4 separate regions of the Homo sapiens genome follow, and regions 2, 3 and 4 are each linked to region 1. Evidence: promoter capture Hi-C in 16 types of primary human blood cells and fetal thymus (Javierre and others, 2016). All regions are on one chromosome and are shown on one strand. Each heading gives the region's core, a stretch centred on a gene start or on the middle of the fragment in contact. The rest is flanking DNA. Distances are from core to core; before and after follow the strand shown. Region 1 holds the start of PTGER4 (prostaglandin E receptor 4). Region 2 has its middle 200 kb from the start of PTGER4. Region 3 has its middle 220 kb from the start of PTGER4. Region 4 has its middle 150 kb from the start of PTGER4.

Region 1 (2,700 bases), core at 102-2,601:
GCTGAGACTAACTGAAGAACCAGTTAGGAGGTTTGTTCGTTCACGAAATAACATTTAAGAAATGGGTACCTGCTTATCACATAAAAGAATCCAGTTATTTACTTACCCTGTGAGGAGACATAATATGTTAGAATGCTTGTACACTGCAGATGGGAAGAGGTTTTTCCAGGAATTTAAATTGTGCAATAAGGCCACACAATCTTACTTAAAAAAAATGGTGAAGGGGTTTTAATTACACCATGAAGTTTTACAATTTTTTAGGTTTTTAGTTCTGGTTTTAGAAAACAGAGTAGAAGGATTACAGAGAAAAACTTCACCATTAGACAAGAAGTCAAAATGATTCTAAGGGCCGCGCAAACAGGCTTTTCCAAGAATTAATCATGAGGTGGTGCTTGGAGAATTCCTTTACTCCAGTGACTTTGAAACCCCCTTCTCACTCTCCACTAGTCTTTCAAAGGATTCATGGTGAATTGGGTCTAACGAGTATAACACGGCCGGCCGAAGGCATGAAGCTCACGCTACCCTTTCAGGGCGGAGAAGTTCCCAGGAGGAAGAATGGAGAAAAAGATCGCAGTTAGGCAGTCCTCCCAACCTCACCAAGGCTCCACCTCTCTCCAAAGCCGCAAGGCTCTGCCACCTGCGCCGGGAGAGGCTGCAATCACTGTCTCCTCCTCTTTCTTTCTCTTTTTTTTTTTTCTTTTTTGCCTGGGGTGCCCGACCAAGCGCAGCCCGCAGTCTGGGCACTGCCAACTGACTCCAACTCCTTTTATGGTGAGAGGATGGATTCTTCGTTATTTCCCCGCCCAATCTGGTACCCACCCACCCACCCACCTACCACGTCCGCTGGGCGCACCCAAGTCTAACCCCGGGGCGCACGCGCTAGCGCAGACACCGTATTTCTTCTCCTTTCTCGGCCAACCCTAGGTAGAATCCTAAAACAACTGCCCTCTCTTCCACGATCTAGATGTTGCGGCCCGCGGACAGGAGGTTCAAGAAATAGTACACTCCGAGCGGCAGGCAGCGAGGCGGAAACGGTCGCCGGTTTCAGTGGTGGCCCCACTGGAAGCCGAGTTCAGGAGCGGCTAAGCGGTCGCCGGGGAAAGCACCGGGGCTTCCCAGGGTCCCCTCCGAGTTCCCACTCCGCACCTCCGAGGGCGTGAAAACCACGGGAGCCGCCCCACCCCGCGCGCCCAGCCCCGCCCCAGCCCAGACACCGCCCCCCGCCAGTCTTCCCTGCGGCGCCCAGGGAGGACGCGCTCCGCCCCCTTCCAATCCGGCCAATGGGCGCCCGGGCAGCGCGCGGTTTGCCTCCGCCTCCGCCAGGGAAACTTGGAGGAGGAGAAAAGTTTGTACAGAGGGTGGAAAGGCGAGAGCGGAGCTCCAAGCCCGGCAGCCCGAGAGGAAGATGAACAGCCCCAGGCCAGAGCCTCTGGCAGAGTGGACCCCGAGCCGCCCCCAGGTAGCCAGGAGCGGCCTCAGCGGCAGCCGCAAACTCCAGTAGCCGCCCGTGCTGCCCGTGGCTGGGGCGGAGGGCAGCCAGAGCTGGGGACCAAGGCTCCGCGCCACCTGCGCGCACAGCCTCACACCTGAACGCTGTCCTCCCGCAGACGAGACCGGCGGGCACTGCAAAGCTGGGACTCGTCTTTGAAGGAAAAAAAATAGCGAGTAAGAAATCCAGCACCATTCTTCACTGACCCATCCCGCTGCACCTCTTGTTTCCCAAGTTTTTGAAAGCTGGCAACTCTGACCTCGGTGTCCAAAAATCGACAGCCACTGAGACCGGCTTTGAGAAGCCGAAGATTTGGCAGTTTCCAGACTGAGCAGGACAAGGTGAAAGCAGGTTGGAGGCGGGTCCAGGACATCTGAGGGCTGACCCTGGGGGCTCGTGAGGCTGCCACCGCTGCTGCCGCTACAGGTGAGATGGCGTTGGGCTGACGTTGGGGTCAACGGGTAGAGAACGCAGGGATGCGGCCCTCGCCGAAGAGAGCCAAGAAGGGAAGAGCGCGCTCTCCAAATTGCTTTTGTAACTTGTTTTCAGTGAGCATTTTATTGATTCAGAATCTATCGAGAATAGCACTAGCGAGCTACTTTTCCCTTGAGATGGGTCTTATTCATCTTGGCAATGGAGTGAGTTGGATTGTGGGGAGGAAGAGGAATGGGAAAATCAGTTTATAAATATTAATGTCAGCAAGAGTGTGCTGTTGGCAGGACGTATCGCGAGCCTGGAGATTTTGGTGGCCGCAGTTGGTAAGTGGCTACAATCCAGAAAGTAGGATCGAGTTGCTCCCCTTGTCTTATCAGTGTATCGTTTCTCGGGCGCGGGTCTAACACCTTACAAGTGGTAATTTCCGCTCACGGCAGCTTTGTCTCTCTTCTACCATCCCCAGACCCAGCCTTGCACTCCAAGGCTGCGCACCGCCAGCCACTATCATGTCCACTCCCGGGGTCAATTCGTCCGCCTCCTTGAGCCCCGACCGGCTGAACAGCCCAGTGACCATCCCGGCGGTGATGTTCATCTTCGGGGTGGTGGGCAACCTGGTGGCCATCGTGGTGCTGTGCAAGTCGCGCAAGGAGCAGAAGGAGACGACCTTCTACACGCTGGTATGTGGGCTGGCTGTCACCGACCTGTTGGGCACTTTGTTGGTGAGCCCGGTGACCATCGCCACGTACATGAAGGGCCAATGGCCCGGGGGCCAGCCG
Region 2 (2,700 bases), core at 129-2,628, 200 kb before region 1:
GCAAAGTATGTCTCCCTTAACTGCATATGCTTCAACTGAGAGTTTGTAAGAAACACAGAATCTCCAGCTCCTAAACCAGAATCTGTGTTTTAACAAGACATGCAGGTGATTTTCATGCCCATGAAGGCATGGGAAGCACCACTGAATTGTACCATTCTCTATTGTTTCACCTGTGTAAGTCCCATATCCTTGACTAGGCTTGCGTGTATTTGGAGAACTGGTACCATTTTCTATATTTGTTCTGCTCTTAAACACACACACCCAAGCTTAGAATATAGGTTAGTGCTGACCACACAGTAGATCACAAATTCAAGCTACTAGAGAAGAAACACCTCTATGAACTGGCCAAATTCAGTAACAGGAATATAAAGATAAATCAAATCCCAGCTCTGCTACTCAACAGATAGTGTGACTTTGGGCAAGTCATTTAATTACTCTACATTTCCAATTCTTTATCTGAATTTAAAGGGGACTATCATGGAAGCTCCAATTTTCATTTTATTTCTGAATATCTACTAATCCACAATAACATTAGAATCAATATAGTTTGATATTGCTTAATAAATAAGAAAACATTCTGGAACCTTTTAGTGCCTAAATGTCATCAACATGAACATCAGTAATAACTGCATTGTAGATGTGAGAAAATGTTGCTTAGTCCAGGATTGTTTAGCAAAAAAACATAGAATTCTATATCCTGCATTTGATTTCCCTTATAATTTAGGCCATGTTGAATGTAAGTAAATTGTTAAAGAAGTTTAAAACAAATTTTTGCTGGATAACAACAAGAGTATGGCTAGAACAGGTGAAATCTCCCCTTTGCCACACTTTGGGAGTCACCCCTATGCTCCTCAGCTCTGCCTTGGAAAAGGAGCTTCTGGCTCTGTAAGAGTCAGATTAGAAACAAAGACTTTGCCTTCAAAAGAAAACTATGAATTTCCACCTGAGGTTCACCACCTTCTCCTGTAAAAGGAGGAGCTGGATTTGTTATACAGAGCAGCAGAACTAGGCTGAGTGAATAAAGAAATGGACATATACACAGGTGGTGCTTTTTGTTGTTGTTTTTAAGGTACTCAGTTTAATTTCTTCTTCTGCCTGTAAGGTCCAATCCCACCCACAGAGTTTAAATTGGCACTTCCCCTGAGGACCTGGACTCCAATTACATCTTATATTTTGATCTCTAAATCTCTTCAAGTTCAAGGACTTCACCTCCTCTCCAGGAATAAAGGGCTGTACTTCCCAGTCACCTCCCTCCCCGTCATGTTGTCCTTGCTTCAGCCTTCAGTCCTCTCTTCTGCAGCAAAGAATCCTAATTCCCTACCAGAATTCTTAAACATCAGTTTACTTTACACATTTCTTTTTTGGCTTCTTTACTGTTAGAACAAGCCCTGAGTGTGTAAAACTGTTCTCACTGTGATGACAAGGCTGTACTGAACAATTGGGGGCAAGAGAGCTGTGGTTCCAGCTGAGGGGGCTAAGTTATGGGACCATGCATGCCTCCACACTTATTTCTCTAAAATTCATCATAGCTCTGAACTTCATGCAGAACTCCTAGAAAAAAAAACACAGTCCAGCTACCTACTTTTAAATTTATGGACGAATGATGGTGGTGATGATGATGATAACAATAATAACACTAGTGCTGTTAGCCGCCTCTGAACAGAAGCATATTTTTGGTTTCTGTCCTCAGGCTCCAAAGTGGTTCACATGATGCAAACTGGCCGTGTAGTCAGCGTTTTGGCATTTTCATTTGATTTCTCTGCCCACTCTCCCCTGTTGGCACTGGCTGCACTTTGAAATGAATTTCTGTTCCTGTGCAAACAGGACCGCAAGAACAGTTACCAGACTTTGAGATCACTCAGGGCATGCAGGTTTCCAGAGATCATTATCCTAGAAGCACAATTCAAGAATAAATATGGGAGCTCAAAATCCACCTAAAGAAGAGAGAACTCTTGTACCCCTCTGGCAGATAATTTCTGCCCACAGCCAAATAATACTTTGGTAAAGTCATCCTGAAACTATTTCTTCTATCCGGCCAAACTCGGGCACTTGGACAGAAGCACCAGAGACATCACAGAGAAAAGAGATGCAATGGGAATAACACAGGACCAAGGACAGGGACCCGGGTTCTGGTCCCAGTTCCACCACTAACTTTAACACTGAGTGAGCCACTTCTCCCAAGTGCTTAGCTTTCTCTGTGAAAGATAATAGTTAGATACTACAGTTTCCAACTTGAACTTACCTAATCATCAGTATCTTGTAGGACATTTATTTTAAATACAGATTTTCAGACTGCTCCCTGCAGATGCTGGTTCAGTATGTTTAGCAGTTACTGAATACTAAGTTTAGTTAGTATTCAGGAGTTTGCATTTTAACAAGTGACCCAGGAAAGTCTTCACATAAGCAAGTTTAGGAAACACGGGCCACATGACATCAGAAAGCTCTTCCGGGTCTGCAGTTCTGCAGAATCAAGTTAATTAATGGCCACGATTAAGCTTCTACTCCCTACAAAGCTCTGCTAGATCCTAAAAATGATAGGAATGATAGCTAACATTTATGTAGTACTAGTCACTATTTTAAAGGCTTTGCATATATGAACTATTTTAATCTTCACAACAACCTTCTGAACCAGATACTATTATTATCCCTATTATAAGACACAGAAACAGATGCACAGAGATTAAGTGATTTTTCAAAGAT
Region 3 (2,700 bases), core at 75-2,574, 220 kb before region 1:
TAAACACTTTAGAGAATGGTTAAGTGGTCATGATCAGAATGTTGATAGAAATGTGGTCAGCAGGAAACATTGTGATGAAGTTTTAGGAGAAACTGAGGAAAAAGATATTGGAAAGTCAAGTAAAGGCCATTCTTGTTATAAATTGTCAAAGCACTTAGCTGGACTCTGTCTGTGACTGAGGTCTTTGTGGAAGTCCAAACTTGAGAAAGATGTACTAGAATATCTGGCACAAAAAAAAATTAAGTAAGGTATAGAAGGCATTCATAGTTACCTTTGGCCATTTACACTGAGATACAAGAGCAAAGTAATAATTTAAAGACAGAATTAATAGTTAAAAAGGAAGCAGAGCAGAAAAATTTGGAAAACCATTTGACCACAAAAAGAATGAAAAAAATGTTTTCAGGAGAGAAACGGAGTGTAGCTGATGGACCACTTTCTAAGGAGATTAGCAGAGACAGAAGGCAGCCATGTGCTATTTGTCAAGACAATGGAAGAAATACCCCCAAAGATATTGCCCAGATATTTGAAGATGCCACTCCCATCACAGGCTTAGGAGAGCAGAATGGTGTCAAGGAACAGCCCCAGAGTACACAGATTCACTTGTCAGGGCCATTTTGGGACTCTGCTACCCACACCCCAGCACAGCAGTTCTGCAGCTGCCTTAGCCATGGCTCAAGAAGCCTCAGGTGCAGCTCATGCTGCAGCTCCAGAAGGTACAAGTTATAAATTTTGACAACATCCATGTGGTACTAATTCTGCAGGCTTGCAGAAAGCAAGAGCTATGGAAGATTGACAACTTCCACCCAAATTTCAAAAGATGTTGCTGAAAGCCTAGAGACCCAGGCAGAGCTACTGTAAAGATCCCTGGTATAATAAAGCAGAGGAGAAATGTGAAGTTGGAGCTGCCACCAAGAGTCCCTGTTAGAGTAATGCCTAAGGAACTCAGGACTACCACTGAGATCTCAGAATTATGGAACCACCAGCAGCATGAAACATCTACCAAAGGAAGCCTTAGGCAAAGGACTTTATTCTGCATAAGCAGTCACGTGGGCTGCACCAAGCAAAGCCCATAGGACTGCCTAAGGCCTTGGGGGCCCAAACCCCATCCCAGTGTGTCCAGAAGGTGACACATGGAGTCAAAAGAAATCATTCCTCAGCTTAAAGATTTAATGTCTGTCCTACTCAGTTTCTAACATGCTTGAGCTTGTTACTCATTTCTCTTTGCCTATTCCTCCCTGTTAAAATAGAAGTGTCTGTCTTATGCCTGAACCACTACTGTATGTTGGAAGTTAATAACTAGTCTTAATTAGCCGGGTGCAGTGGCAGGTGCTTGTAATCCCAGCTATTCGGGAGGCTGAGGCAGGAGAATCGCTTGAACTCGGAGGGCAGAGTTTGCAGTGAGCTGAGATCGCGCCACTGCACTCCAGCCTGGCGACAGTGAGATTCCGTCTCAAAAAAAAAAAAAAAAAAAAACTAGTCTTGATTTCACAGGCTCACAGATGGGATTCTGAACTTTGGACTTTTGAGTTGGGGCTAGTATTAGTTAAGACTTTGGGGTTAACTTTGGAAAGTTTGGAAGGGGTGATTGTTCCACTCAATGGAAGGACATAAGAAACAGGAAAAAGCAAGGAAATGTAACTCTACTAAAGGAAAACTTTTTAGTAACAAACCCCAATAAAAGGAAAATTAATGGAGAACCAGAAAAGGAATTCAAAATTATGATCTTAAGGAAACTGAATGAGGTATAAAAAATACAGTTAGACAATTCAACAAAATCAGGAAAAAACATATGCATGAGAAATTCAACAAAAAGACAGATATAAAAAAGAAAAAAAACAAATCATGCAACTAAAGAATTCAATGAATGAAATAAAAAAACAACACAGAGCTTCAACAGCAGATTTGATCAAACAGAAGAATCTCTGAACTTGAAGGCAGGTCATTTGAAATTATTTGGTTAGAAAAAATAAGAATGGAAAATAGCTCTTAAAAGATTGTAAACTTATGAGACACCATTAAGTAGACAAATATTCATTATAGACATTCCAGAATGAAAAAAAATGGAAAAAATGCATAGAAAACCTATTTAATAAAATAATAGCTGAAAATTTCCCAAATCTGGAGACAGATATAAACATCCAGATCCAGGAAGTCCAAAGATCCCAAACTATATTTCAATCAGAAAGGTACTGTCCAAGGTAAAAAATAGTCAAAATATCAAAAGTCAAAGACAAAAAGAATTCTAAAACAAGAGAAAAGCACCAAGTCACATATAAAGGAATATTCATTAGACTCACATTAGGTTTCTCTTCAGAAACCTTACAGGTCAGGAGAGAATAAAATGATATATTCAAAGTACTGAAAGAAGAAATTGACAGTCAAGAATACTATACTCAACAAAGCTATTTCTTAGACTGAGGGAGGAATAAAGCCATTCCCAGACAAGCAAAAGTATAAGGAAATCTATCACTAGACTGACTTTACAAAAAATGCTGAAAAGAGTCCTGCATCTGGAGACAAAAAGGTGATAATCACAATCATGAAAACATGCAAAAATATATAACTCATTGATAGGGCAGATAAACAAAGAAGAAATAAAAAAAAGTTCATACCATTCAAATAATCTATAGATTCAATGTAGTGCCTATCAAAATGCCAATAATATTCTTCACAGAAATAGAAAAAAAAATCCTAAAATTT
Region 4 (2,700 bases), core at 23-2,522, 150 kb before region 1:
AGCTAAAAATGAAAATGATTGAACTAATGGAGATAAAGAATAGAATGATGGTTACCAGAGGCTGGGAAAGGTAGTTGGGAAAGGGGGAGGGATGTGAGGATAATTAATGGGTACAAAAATATAGTTAGATACATATATAAGATCAAAAGATCTTATTCACTTGATAGCACAACAAGGTGATTACAGTCAATGAAAATAAATAGTACATTTTAGAATAAGTTAAAGAGTGTAATTGGATTGCTTGTAACACAAAGAAATGATAAATGCTTGAGGTAATGGATACCCCATTTACCCTGATGCAATTATCTCATATACTCCACAAACATACACACCTATTATGTATTCATAAAAATAAAAAAAGTTAAAATGCAATATTTGAAATAAAAAGAACTTAACAGTGAAGTGTGCTTTAGACTTTTTAAATTTCTTCACACTGAATGCATATAAATGACAAGATGTACTTCAGAAAATTGTAGTTGGAAATATATTTAGAAAAGTATGAGCTTAAGGGTCATTATTTACTACATCTTAAAAAGTAGAGAGAGTCATACTGTATGATTCTAATTATATAACATTCTGAAAAGTAAACAGTAAAAAGATAACTGGCCTCCAGGAGCTCGGGGAGAGAAGGTGATGCACGTAGGCATTTTTAGTCTAGTGAAGCTCTTTTAGCGCAGTGAGACTTTTTGAAAATTGACTAGAGTTGGAGCAATCAGTGTAATCTCATGTTTAGCTTAATATACATGCCTACGCTTACATATAGAAATACTTATGAATATAAGCATATACATGGGTTAGTATGCACATGTATATTTCCTTGCTCTGTCAGCTGAGAATACCTAAAAGCAATAATGCCCTAGTAATGATGAGTACGCTTAGCACTTGAATTTTGGTTTCTACCCCTACTTTCTGATAAAAGAAACCAGGGCTCCTTGGAAAAAATGACTGATTCTAGGAGAAGGGCAAGAAATATACATGATAAGCCTGGAACATCTTATAGTGCCAGAAGTAAGAAAGTGCTAAAAAAAGAAAAAAAAAACGAAAAAAGCTTCACTTTGATTAGTATATGTCAAAGGGACATAGGAGCCACAGAAAGAGCTCCCAATGGCCAATGCTGGAACAATTTAAGCAACAAATAAAGTAGAATTCAATTACAACACAAAGTATAAAATAAATATTCATGAGTTCATACTGATATAAATAAATGATTGCATAAATACATATATGAGGGAGAAGAGGCAAATCTGCCATGAAGAATTCCAAATAATTTATGTAGATAATCTACCAGCAAGGAGTGGGGGCATAACTCCTCACTCCCTAAGTGTGGGCCACACATAGTGACTTCCTTACCAAAAGCACAGCAAGAAAGAGGCCAGAGGAGAATAACTTTAGAGTGGAGAGGCCTAACAAACATTACCTTGACCAGGTGATCACAATCAACATCAACAGTGCAGTATGAACCTTTGACGTATGAAAACAACATCATTTTATCTTTGTAAGCTTCCTCTCCAAAACCTCAATCTAATCATGAAAAAACAGACAAATTTAACAGTGGGCATTCCACAAAATACCTGACCAGTACTCCTGAAAATGTCCAGGTGGTCAGAGAACAAAAAAAGTCTGAGACCGTGACAACTGAGAGAAGCTTAAGAAGGCATGCCAACTAAATGTAATGTGATAACTAGATGAGATGTTGGAACAGAAGGACATCAGGTAAAATCCAAGGAAATTTGACTGAACTATGGACTTTAGTTAATAATAGTGAATCAATTAATACTGTCTATTAATTGTAATAAATGTACCATACTAATATAAGATGATAATCATAGGGGAAACTGGTGTGGGGTATGTAGGTATTCTCTATATTATCACCTCAATTTTTTTGTAAGTCTAAAATTACTCTAAAAAATAAATCTATTTTTTCAAAAGTAGAGGATTTTATAAAATCATTTCAGACAAAGTTAATTTGAATGTATTAGTCAAATCATGATGTAATAAATTAAGCCATCTTTTCAAGAAAGAATACCTATTTATAATACAATAATAACAATCAATGGTGACATTTTCTATTAAGCGTTTCAAAATTATTGCCTTATTTGATACTCATCACACCTCTAAAAGAATGCGAAGAGATAAAAAAGCACTCCAGGTTTGTATTTATTGGAAAACATAAGAGATTATAAAATGCATAAAATGTCTTTATAATCAAAATACACCTGAAATTAATAAAGCAAAAACCATAGAAAATACACCACATGATTGAGCGGGTATTTTGCTTAATAACTGTGAAGCATCTCAGATGAATTTCTCCCTTGGAAAGATTGCTTACTCTATTCAGTAAAATGTGCTTCTTAGTAAAATAGAGCATTGTCATTATCTGGCATCTCCCGTGCCTATGAATTTCACATGGAAATACACTGGGTCCTACTTCTTAAGTAACCTTGACAGTAGCTTCCCAAATCTGAAAATAGAAATTCAAACAAGTTTTATGAAGTTGAATATTTGTGCCTTATGCACTGAGCTGTGTGTTATGTACAATTTTAAAGTTAAGATGTTAAATAGAAATTCAAATAAGTGCTAGTGAGTTCTATATCTGCCAGTTAGTGTTTACACATCTGGAAGGCGTAATACTAAAAAAAAAAAAAAATCCAAAATTTCAACAACCTCTTGATAGCTTAAGAAGCTAAGATTCGAGAAAGT

What was found. Contacts are between HindIII fragments. The CHiCAGO score rates a contact against its expected background, and 5 or more counts as called.
Region 2: a contact is called between a fragment that was not itself captured here and the fragment with the promoter of PTGER4 in region 1, in 3 of 17 cell types (activated CD4 T cells, total CD8 T cells and naive CD8 T cells). The highest score is 7.4, in activated CD4 T cells.
Region 3: a fragment that was not itself captured here is called in contact with the fragment with the promoter of PTGER4 in region 1 in 1 of 17 cell types (fetal thymus); the score reaches 5.2 in fetal thymus.
Region 4: a fragment that was not itself captured here is called in contact with the fragment with the promoter of PTGER4 in region 1 in 2 of 17 cell types (naive CD4 T cells and activated CD4 T cells); the score reaches 5.3 in naive CD4 T cells.

Annotation. Positions count from the first base shown.
Region 1 is chr5:40,678,564-40,681,263 of GRCh38, forward strand. PTGER4 (prostaglandin E receptor 4) reads left to right here and starts at 1,352. Exons shown (of 3, transcript NM_000958.3): 1 at 1,352-1,915; 2 at 2,388-2,700. The coding sequence starts at 2,431. RefSeq lists a silencer at 1,015-1,234 and an enhancer at 2,370-2,700. The HindIII fragment of the contact is 6,362 bases long and covers 1-2,700 here.
Region 2 is chr5:40,476,281-40,478,980 of GRCh38, forward strand. No RefSeq gene overlaps it. Among named protein-coding and RNA genes, the nearest start is that of PTGER4, 200 kb to the right of the region's middle. The HindIII fragment of the contact is 2,229 bases long and covers 265-2,493 here.
Region 3 is chr5:40,458,950-40,461,649 of GRCh38, forward strand. No RefSeq gene overlaps it. Among named protein-coding and RNA genes, the nearest start is that of PTGER4, 220 kb to the right of the region's middle. The HindIII fragment of the contact is 9,349 bases long and covers 1-2,700 here.
Region 4 is chr5:40,524,960-40,527,659 of GRCh38, forward strand. No RefSeq gene overlaps it. Among named protein-coding and RNA genes, the nearest start is that of PTGER4, 150 kb to the right of the region's middle. The HindIII fragment of the contact is 452 bases long and covers 1,047-1,498 here.